Regions from separate parts of the Homo sapiens genome. Here region 1 is linked to region 2. Evidence: promoter capture Hi-C in 16 types of primary human blood cells and fetal thymus (Javierre and others, 2016). All regions are on one chromosome and are shown on one strand. Each heading gives the region's core, a stretch centred on a gene start or on the middle of the fragment in contact. The rest is flanking DNA. Distances are from core to core; before and after follow the strand shown. Region 1 overlaps CD86 (CD86 molecule). Region 2 holds the start of SEMA5B (semaphorin 5B).

Region 1 (5,609 bases), core at 1,850-4,349, 930 kb before region 2:
CAATCAGACAAGTTGATTTAGTGGAAGACAGTCACTGAATAGGATGTGTATAGGGTTGTTTGGGAGCAAGAGTGAAATTGGTATGGAACAGAGAGGCTCCCAAGGCAAGCAGACATTTTTTTTGGAAGAAGCAAGTGTTTGAGAGACTGTGGCTTATTTTTCCTTTGTGAGAGGGGAGTTTTAATACCATTTCCAAAATATGTAACCTGGTATTTTGTCCCCAGAAGTACTGTTGAGATTTATGGAAGCAAAAAACTCTGTCACCCAGGCTAGAGGAGTGCAGTGGTGCTATCAAAGCTTACTGCAGCCTCTAATTCCCAGGCTCAAGAGATGTTTCTGCCTCAGCCACCTGAATAGCTGGCACTATAAGTACATGCCACCATGCCTGGCTAGTTTTTTTTGTTGTTGTTTTGTTTTGCTTTAGAGACGGGGTCTCGCTTTGTGCCCAGGCTGGTCTTGAACTCCTTTTAAGTGATTATCTCTTCTCAGCTTCTTAAAGTCCTGGGATTATAGGCATGGCCTATCTATTTTTATGTTTTATAATTTCTTGTACTTTTTGATGTTACTTCAAATATCTTTTTAAGTATCCTAAATATACTTATTTAAATTTTTTTTGAGTAAATTTATCTATAAATTATTGATTTTATGTCGATAGACATTGTTCTCTATCATTAATAATGTTAAAAATAAATAAAAAAACAAAAACAAGTAAATCAATTAATGCTTACCACAGGCCAGTATTTGATCCAACACTAACTCAAATATTCATTTCTTTAATCCTCACAACAAACCTATGAGGTAGGTACCATTATTGTTCCTGCTTTTTGCAAGAGGAAACTGAGACACAGGGAAGTTAAGTAATTTGCCTATGGTAACACAGGCAGTGAGTAGTTGAGCTGAGATTGAACTCACGCTGTCCAGAATCCATGCTATTAGTTATAATAGTGTACTGCCCTATAGCTTTCTGTTTCACAGCTACATGGCATTACTTTGTATGGATGTATCATTATTTGTTAAACCATTTAACTTATTTCCAGTGTATTGTTCTTATAAACAATGAATACCTGTGTACCTCTAATTTTGTGCACATGTATCTTTTTGTAGAATGAATTCTTAAGAAATTGAGTTGCTAAGTCAATGCTTAAGCCCATAATTAATTTTCTTACATATTACCAACTGTCCTCCAAAAAGGTTGTACCAATTTAGAATTTTACCAGCAGTAAATTCAGCAGTTAGGACCCATTTTCCTAACACTCTCGCGGACACTGGGTATTACCAGTATTTTTTTTAATACGTGCCAATCAAATGGGCAAAAAGAATGGTTTCTCACTGAGGTTTAAATTGCATTTCCCTAGTTATTCTTGAGATTTTTCCTTTCCTTTCTTCAACAATTACTTATTGAGTGCTTCATATTTGTAAGGGACAATTGCAGGTACTGGAAATGTCACAGTGAGGAAAAGTGACAAAGCCCCTGCTGTCATGGAGCTTATTCTAATGGGAGATGTCAGGTGCTCAGCTGAGCTGGGAGAGAGAGAGCTGAGTTGTCAGGTGTCAGAGGAGCCAATTATAGCAGCAAAACAAAAATAAAATAGTTCAGCTTTTAATCTCTTACTACGACGGTATAATCAAGAGGCTAAAATGGGAGGAAGGGCAGACTCTGCCTGTTCCATTTCCCCACATAGAGTGAGTATACCAGTCGAGGGTCAGGTAATCAGTGCAGACTTAGGGGGTCGCCTTACCATTGAAGAAGCCCCAAATGAAAGGCTCTAGCAGTTTTATGGACCTGGGGGTGGAGGAATCCAAGGGTGGGGAGAATTCATGAGGAAAATGAGGTGAGAGGGCTAGGAGTGGAAAAGTACAAAGTACTGAGTTAGCGTGGGGAATAGTGTCTTTAGGGCTAGGAGTGGAAAAAATACTAGGTACTGAGTCAGAGTGGAAAACAGTGTCTTCAAGGCAGGGAGTGGAAAAGTGCTAGGTACTGAGTCCGAGTGGAGAAAAGTGTCTTCTCTATGATGAGGAGGCTTCAGCAGAGGTGCCTGAAGACCTCACCCCAGAGCCTCAGATAAAGAGACCTAAGAATGAGGGTGCCTGGGCTAAGATTGCAAGTATGTGAAAAAGCATGACTGGCGGGAGGCTGAGATCTTGATTGCAGCCCCCTTCAGAGACTGCCATGCACTGACTGTGCACCAAGTCTGCTGTAGAAAGGGCAACTTCCTCAGCAAGGCTTGTCAGATTAAGCCTCTTTAATTGCCTGTGGTCAGGTCTGAAAAATCACACATAGATTTTTAATCAGAACCCAGACATCTCAGGAGAGACAGACAATAACCAAACATACCGTGTCATGTCATGTCATGATAAGTACCACAATAAATATAAGTCAGCATGAGGGACAGAATGCCCAGGATGCTATCTTCAATAGAATGGTTAGAGAAATCTCCCTGGGAGGTAGCATTTAATGAAAGACCTACATGAAGTGAAGGAGAAGCTATGAGACTGTCTGGAGGAAGAACCTTCTGGACAGAGGGAACAACATGAGAAGAGGACTTGAGACAGAGTGTGTGATCTTTTGGAGGAATGTCAAGGGAGGCAGTGTGGCTGGGGAGAGTAAGCAGGGGAAAGAGGCCTGATAGGTACTGGGGACCCAATTACATGAGGTCTTGTAAGGCCAGGGGAAGGACTTTGGATGTAGTTCTCAGTGTGAGGGGAAGGGATCTGGATATATTTTTCAGTTTGGTGGAAGGCATCAGAGGCTTCTGAACAGGAGGATTATGTGATTGGAGCTGTATTTTTAAGGGATCATTTTGGCTTGAGAAACTAGACCCGGGGACAAGGACGGAGCAGGCAGATGAGTTAGGAGACAATTACATTAGTCTCCTCTACCCTTTTCTTAACATATTGGAGTTCAGCTCTGGCTGTAGTAGTTCTAGATCTCCTCAGACACACTTGTGTAGAGCCTCTGTTGGGTATTTTGGGTACACAAATGATTCATCTTGGTTATACAGATGATTTAGATGATTGTAGACAGAAGAGGGTTGTCTGGTCATTCCCAGACAGGGGAGCATTCCTTGAGATAGAGTAGAGGAAGGCTGAAGGGGAGGAAGACAGTACCTGTTGCTATCTAGATAGAGACATCCAGCAGGAAGTTGAATACAGGTATCTGAAACTCTAGTGAAAGTTATAGGCTGGCAATAAGCACCTGGGAGTTATTAGCTTTTACTTGACAGTTGAATCCGTGGGGCTAGAGGAGAAAAACCAGGAAAGTATGGAGAATAAGAAGACCAAGAACATGCACTCAAGGTTACCAAAATTAAAGAGTGATTTGAGAAAATTAACAAGGAAATCAGAGATTGGGAAAGAATAGAGCATTTCAATGAGGAGAGATGCCAACACTTGCATTTGACACAGCGGTCAAATGAGTTGAGATCTGAAAAGAGCTCAAGCCTTGGCCATGGTGTGAAGTCACCAACAACCTTTGTCAGGGAGTTTCAGTAGAGAGGTGGGGGTGGGAGGCTGGGAATAAAGGCAGCAATTGCTGCTTACTCTTTCAGGGAGTTTGACTCCAAGGGAAAGAGAAACTAAAAGCAGTAGCACAAGGTTTGTGTTTGAAGTAATGGAGGTGAACCAGGTGAATAGCCTGGAGGCCGAGTGAAGTGAGACAGGACACTGCAGATTTGGAATGTCACCAGTCCGCACAACTGAATAATTTCCTCCAGAACTGCTCAATTGCCCAGTTGTAAGAACAGATATGTAGACCAAAAGTAGAGTGTCCCCAGGGTAAATTTTATAGAGACAAAGGGGTGTGTTTATTGAAGTTGTGGAAAGGAATAATTACAAAGACATACTATTGTTGCATTGTCCAATATAATAACCACTAGCCATATGTGACTACTTAAATTTCAATTAATTAAAATTAAATAAGATTAAAAATTCATCTTCTCAGTCATACTAGCTATGTATCAATTGCTCAATAGCCACAGGGGCTGGTGGCTATCATATTGTTCAGCACAGAGACAGAGCATTTCCATTATCACTAAGAGTTCTTGTGGAAAACACTGCACTACAGGGTCTGGATAAAGCTGAGGTCTTGATTAAGTTGAACAACAGTTGTAGAAGGAGTAAGCAAGAGCAAAACCTGGATGAATAGGAGGTTGTGGACGGAGATTAGTATATTGAGATTAAGATTCTAGGGACTGAGCTGCTCCAGGTGAAAAGTTTCAGGGTTATGTCATAAGAAGGTGGGGGGCAGCTGCTGAAATAGTCTGCGGGTGTAGACCTGTGGAGTTGACAAGATCAAAGAAATTTGAGGCAAGGTTGTTAGACTCATTCATGAAGAAGTCACCCAAATTGTTAGCAAGACCTTGCATCTAATGCCAAAATCCTCATTTAGCAAGGTGGTAGTGACTTAGTAGCTACAAGCAATGAGAAAGTCAGACACCTCAAAAGGGGAAGGTGTTGCTCAAAGTCCCCACAAAGTGTGATAAAACAAACAGTAGCTGGGGCTGGAGCAAGTGGCTTCCTTTGGGTGAAGCCAGATTTCACTGAAATAATAACCTCAGGGAAACAGTCAATGAAGGGGTTAAAGATGTGGGAGAGTTTCCTTGTAGTAAGTAATGGAATGAGGCTTTCAAAGGGCCAAGTAAAACTTTGGAGGAAGTTTAGTAAAAGAAGGAATTTTTTTTAGTACAGATAAGCATAGGAACATAAAGAAGAGATAATTCTTAAACATATAAGATATGCATTTGGGGATAGCAGCCAGGGAACACTGAAGTCCCAGTGGGGTCAGAGACTTCATAAGGCTAGCAAATTACAGTTTTTGAGTGGCATTCCAACAGTAGAGTGTATTGCTCAGGAAGTCCTTAATTATCCTTTGAAACAAATTCCTTCAGCTGATTACGAAGGCATCTAGCTGGATTCTTGAGCGACTTGTTCCTGACATCATAGCAACCCATTGTAACTAGACTTCGACCATTCCTCTTACCCAAGTGCTGGGGAAGGGAGAGATTCTCAATGCTTACCCACCTATGGAATCCCAGTAAGTCCAGTTGCTAGGTGGCTTGAGGTCTGGGGTCATAAAATGGAAGGCCTGAAGTCATTTGGTGATCACAGACCTTGAGCCAAACTTTCCCCATTTAGTCAGAGAAAGGATTAGCAGCATCCCCCATGCCTGGCTCTGTGTGAGATCATGGAAGCCAGTGGTTGGTGAGGTGCTATGGAGTATAAATTGCAAAATACTTTCAGTTCCACTCAGAATGGATTTCAAAGTGATTTCCACCCCATGGGGAGGAGAGGGAGTCTGAGGAGGGATGGATGGAAAAAAAATTTTCATGTCATTTTCTGTGATCCACTCTGGAGACAGAGGCAGAGATTCTCTACAACAGCTGCTCAAACTATAGCTCTTGTTAAAATGGAGGTTCTGAATCAGTAAGTCTTGGGTGGGGCCAGAGATTCCGTGTTTCAGACCAGCCCACATGTGACGTGAATCTCATTGGTCCATACATCACACTTTCAGTTGCTAGGTGAAGAAGGGAGCACTCGATGAGTGGAAGAGAAAGCCGTTGTAATCTTTGGGAGAAGGGGCCTGGGTCAGCGGAGTTAGACTGGTCTGTGAG
Region 2 (5,559 bases), core at 1,541-4,040:
ATGGACAATCTCCAGGGCCTCTCCCAGCTTTGAGTCTCAATAAGAAGTGACCACTGTAGGGTCTTTCAAACAAGCCAGGAAGTTCATCCTAAGACAAGAAAGTTTCTGGGGCTCCTCCAGTCCTAATGGGGAGGTAGCAATCTACAGTGTTGGGCTGGACCTCTCGGCTTCTCTGGTTTTCTAGTCTGGCACTAGAAGTGGTAAAGGAACTTTTTCCCCTCCCTAGTGGGAAAGGAGGTGCTGGCTGTCCTATCTCAGGGCAGAGTCAATAAGCCCAGCTCTCTGTCCCACCTGAGTCATCGAGTTTTTTTTAACCCTTCCTCTCCTAAACCCTTGGGTCATCAGGCACCTTGCTGCCTGTACAGCCACTGCATGTTCCTCTCCATGTTCTCCCTCCCCAAACACATAGACAAGTGTCTCAGGATCAAACTGGTGAACTTACTAACCTCTCTGGGCATGGGCTCGGCCCTGTACCTCTTTTTATCTACCAGCATTTAGCATGGTGCATTGCACATAGTAGGTGCTTAAACAGTGTTAGATGTCCACGGTGATGATTATGGTCGCTACTGTTGGCTTTGGAGGAGGAAGGCTCTGGCACTGGCTGCTTGGAAAAAGAAAAGGGATGGAAGATCTGCCATTCCTTCCCAAACTGGTGGTGATAGGTGTTGATATGGAGAAAAGAGCTCCCCCTGAAACCCACACTCACCTACACACACCTTTCCCAACACAGCAAGCCAGAGGCAGCCCTGCCCCGAGTGGTCTACCCCCACGCCCCAAGGCCCAGAACAGTTCTCACCGCCCCATGAGTGACCAAGTGGCAAGTTCCCCCATCTCTCCTATATTTTATCTCCTTTCCTCCTCCGTTGAAAATCTAGACTTCGGGAAAGGTACTGGCTGTTTCTTTCCAAGCTGCTTTCAAATCTGCCCCCCTTTTCCGTAATCTTGAGGTCCAGTTACAAGGTTCAAGTTCCCCTCTTGCCCCTTCCTCAAGGTCATCTGTCCCGGCTTAGAAAAGGTGAGAGGCCACTGCTGATTGTCAAGAAGAGAACAGGCTTAAAAAGATGAGCTGAAGTGGGGAGGCCGAGGAGCAAGCAGGCAGGGAGGGCTGTGGAGAGAGGCCCCGAGGCCGAAGTGGGTTGGGGTGCCTGAGAAAAGCGGAAGGAGGTCGGATTCACTAGGGGCTGAAGGAAAAAGATGGGGTTAGGGCCAGAGAAGGTAGGATCGTGGTGAGGTCTAGACACAGGCAAGCTTCCAAACCCTCAGTCCCAATTCCGTTGGCCGGGAAGGAGTGCATGCCAGGGTAGCCCGCCCTCCCGGCTCCTGCTGCTCTCACCCCGCCCCTCTGCAGAAAGCCTGGGCAGGATCGCAGGGGTGCGGGCAGAATCCAGCGCTCCTCTCTCCCCATCCAGACTCTCGGCCCACTCCCGCCTGGCGCGGCGGGCAGTCGGAACTACCCAAAGACTGGGCTCGAGGTGGGGGGCGGGGGCGGGGAGGAGGGGGCCAGAACGGCGCTGCAGGTGATCCTCCTCCTTGTTTAAAGTTTGCGGTGGGCAAAGGAGTCGGCTCCGTTGGGCCGGGTTTTCTCGAGCCTCGCCTTCTTCCTCCGCCGGTCCGGCGACCACTTCCCTCTTGGCTCCCGCCCCGCGCGGGTCCCCGATCCCCTCTCCCGTCTGCATCCCTCTCTGTGCCCGAGCGCCCCCCGCTCCCTCCCTCCTCGCTGGATCTCCCGCAGGACGTGAGCGGAAAGTGAATGGGCAGCCCCAACCACAAAGACAAATTACCATGAGAAACATAAATCGGGAAATCGCCGCTCGCGTCCCTGCTTCCAGCTGCCGCACCCCTCTCCACCCTCCCAGCCGGGAGTGCGGGGCCCTGAGCCACTGCCCCTGGAGCCTGGTGGGCAGAGTTCACGCTCCGCAGGCCTGGTCAGGGCAAGAGTGTCCTGGAGGCGGGTCTGGGAAGAATCCGGGCGGCGGCTCCGCAGGCGGCGGCGGTGGAGCAGGGACGTCCCTGAGCGGGAGATTTCACACTCTGGGCGGGCCACGCGTTCCCACGCGCCTCGCCGCCCGCACTCTCCCTCAGTGCTGTTTACTAGCCGGCCCTCTCTGAGCCTCCATCTCCGCACCTCTGTCCCTCCGTCCCTCAGCCTCACTCGTCCGTCTCCTTCTCCAGGCCTGGGTCCCGGGTCCCCATCGCCGCTGCAGCCCAGATGCGCCGACCACAGCCCTGGCAGGGCCCAGTGCAACCCGGACCCAAGCTGGCTGGCGGCGGGAACGCAGCAGCGATGAGGGCTCTCAAGCCGAGGTGGCAGCGGGAGGCGCGGAAGCCAGGGGACCCCCTGTCCTCCCGCCCGCAGCCTCACCTACCTGGCTTCAACTTGCCAGAGCCCGGACCCCTACCTCTCTACCCCGATACCCACCCGAGTTGCTGAAGTTTGCAAGTTGCAGCCCCAACCCGCGCAGGGGAAGCGCCCGGGGCTCCCGGGACTCACCTCCCAGAGGCGGGTGCAGGTGCCCGGTTCCCCGCGGCTCCCGACTCCCGGGCGGCGCGGAGCGGCGGGAGCTAACCAGATGGGCTGGCGGCCGGTCTGGGAATGGGGCGGCCGCGCAGGAACGGCCTCCAGCTCTCAGCGCTCCGGTGCAGTCCCCACCCGGGCCCGCGCCCGCTGCGCTCGGGCTCCCAGCAGCCGCTGGATGCGCTGCCGACCCGCCCGGCTCGGCGGAGCTGGGCTCTGGCACCAACCCCCGCGCTCCAACTAGCTCCCGACCCGGCGCTCGGAGAGAGCAGGGAGGAGGAGACCGCGGGAGCAGAAGGAGGGAGGGGGCGGTGGGGGAGGAGTTGCAAGCAAAGGGAGAGAAGGAGGGGAGCGGGAGCGAAAAAGAGGAGGGGGCTGGAGCAGACCTGCCGCGGCGGGCGCTGCACCCGCCAGCCTCGAGGCGCGCGGAGGAGCGCGAGGGGGCGCCCTGCATCCCGCGGCTGCTCGGCCGACTCCCGCCCCGGGCCTGCCGAGTGTGGTGACCAGCCCGGTGGGCCGAAGCCCCTTCCCCGGCCGGCATTCCGGCGGCAAGACCTAGGACTCCGAGCACTTGCCGCCGTTTGCCACATCCCGCCTTGCCGTTCTCGGTCACCCCATCTCGAATGTGACATCCCCGAGGGCCATCGGCGCGGCCTGCCCACCCCAACACTCAGGGCCTGAGGAAGCTCCCCCAAACCCCACTCCGGACTCCCACATTCCCCAGCCCCGTCAGTTCGGAACGATCTTCCTGCCTGTGGATTTGAAGGGGAAGGGACCTCGTGTAAAACGGGGGAGAGCCGTTATAACCTGCAGCGGCAGAGAGGGAGGCTAGGCTGCTGGGCTGGGCTGGAAAGCCAGAACTGGCCGGATTAGGGTTAACCTTGCAAACTGTACGATACCGAGCGAACCTCTCCAAGCCTCAGTTTCCTCAGCTGTAAACTGGGGTTAGTAATACGCACCCTACAGAATTGTGAAGAACGAGTAGGGGATACGGGGAGTAAAATAACATCAGGAACAGTGGGAGGGCAGCCAAGAGATGAGCGATCCGGGGAGGTGGTGGAGCGTTCTCAGCTGAGGACGGAAGGTTTAGCGCAATCACAAGGAGCGAGGCCGAATTGTTTACAAGTTTAAGTGATCTAGTGTTTCTGATGGCTAGAAGGCGGGAGAGAAAGATTCAAGGGGCAAGCTTCAAATCCTAGCTGCCCGGGCTGCAAGAGGGATGGGAAGGGAGCCCTCTGCTGAACAAAAAATATATTTGAAAATGTAAAAAAAGGTGACCTAAGAACGAGTGAGAAAGACAAAGGATTTGAAAAATTAAAACCAGGAAAGTGTGATTCTAAGAGATAACCAAAGAGAACTATGAAATAAAAATAGATAAGTTGGAGGAAGGAAAATATCAAAAGACTTTCTAGAGTATGCCAAAAATTGGATAATTAGAACAAAGTCTGAGTGAAGCATTTTACATAATAAAATTCTGGGTAAAGGAAAACCCAGATAAAGCAGAAGAATTGAGACACTAAGAGCCCCAGAGAAGCACCTCCTGCCTGCCATCCTCCTACCCCTGGACCATGGCAAGAAGCAGTTTGACAGGATAATGGGAAAGAAAGGGTGGTTCTGAATCCAAGAAGGGAGTTTATGAGACACTGTAAAAAGAGAAACAGTGCAAGATCTCAAAGATAGACTTTCTAGGGCAACAGAAATGCTGAAACTCATAATGTGCAGAATGGAGAGAAACTTGCAAAGGGAAAACACGCTCTGGACACAAAGGCAGAGATGCAGAGAAGAAAAGAAAGGAAACGGGCATGTGTGGGCATACCAGTCTGGTAGCCCAGTCTGGGGTAAAAATCAAGTTGGAAGAGGCAGCATGGGATATTGAGTCCAAATCTATCATTTTATCAACAAGGACAATGAGCTCTGGACCATTCTCCCAGAGTCCCAGGCTGAGATAGGGATAGGTCTCCTGATCTCCACCGTGGAACCTTTCCACTGCAATGAGCGTGCCCCCCCCCCAACCCCCATTCCCTGCAGAGCCATGGGGAATGTTTTTGTCATCACAAAAAATAGAAGTATGTGCAATATAGAGATACCTTTTAATTAACACAAAAAACCACGAAGCTATTCCATACTGCAGGACCAGGGAATGAACAGGAGAGCTTCCAATTTGTCTGGTTGGGAGAATAGACAAAATGCCTTCTGAGTGGCTCTGTCAGCCACAGCTCTCCCTTGAAAGATAACCAAAATATTCTCCACCCTTCACACATTCTCTCACCTGCCCTCTTGTTTGCTACCATGTTTTGATTGTGTTCATTCTTTTCTTCCCACTATCATGTCAAGGCCTTTCCTGGCTCTCCCTCTCCATGTTATAAAGTGGAGAGGGGGTTTGGGGGCTTGGCACAGGAAGGGAAGAGAGGAGACTCCAGGCTGGGGACACAAAGAGGGAAATTTTCCTTTTCAGGGGAAGCAGGAGCCAGGACAAGGAGGCACCCAAAGAGACAGACCAAGTAGCAGGGCAGCTAGCAACATTGGGCTAATTAATCCTAATTGCATCCTAAAGCATTGTATTGATTAACAGTGATTACTCAAGAGCTCTCAATACAAGAGAGCTTCAGAAGCCCAACCCTCCGGAAGAGACAGTTTCTTTACTGGCCTGGCTTACCACCTGCTCTTTGGCAAACCCAGCCTGGTTAGAATCTCTGAATCATTTACTTGGAACAAAACCTGGAGCATTGATTCCATCACCACAGTATCACAACCAGCTTCTGCCACCTTCCTTAGACCTTTGCAATAACCTATAAGATAATTGCTTCTGTTAGGAGCAATTCTTCTTCTACCGAAACATTGTAATTAAGCAGAATGGAAATATAGTAATTAACACAGTGTTATCTCAAGCAAACAAGCTAAAGAGCGGTGAATATAGGGGGTGACGGAGTTTTTAGGATTCACTCTTGACCTAGAAATTCCAAACTTATCTTGAACTAAGGTTGAAAGAGTTTAAGAAATAGATCCAAATTCTCATGCTCAAGAGCAGGAAAGGGTGGAAAAGC

Evidence for each region. Contacts are between HindIII fragments. The CHiCAGO score rates a contact against its expected background, and 5 or more counts as called.
Region 1: a fragment that was not itself captured here is called in contact with the fragment with the promoter of SEMA5B in region 2 in 4 of 17 cell types (fetal thymus, total B cells, activated CD4 T cells and 1 more); the score reaches 7.5 in fetal thymus.

Annotation. Positions count from the first base shown.
Region 1 is chr3:122,095,840-122,101,448 of GRCh38, forward strand. The region is part of intron 2 of CD86 (CD86 molecule); the gene reads left to right. Among named protein-coding and RNA genes, the nearest start is that of CD86, 43 kb to the left of the region's middle. RefSeq lists an enhancer at 5,221-5,410. The HindIII fragment of the contact is 5,609 bases long and covers 296-5,609 here.
Region 2 is chr3:123,024,973-123,030,531 of GRCh38, forward strand. SEMA5B (semaphorin 5B) reads right to left here and starts at 2,791. Exons shown (of 23, transcript NM_001031702.4): 1 at 2,492-2,791. RefSeq lists an enhancer at 3,395-3,902. The HindIII fragment of the contact is 2,453 bases long and covers 1,247-3,699 here.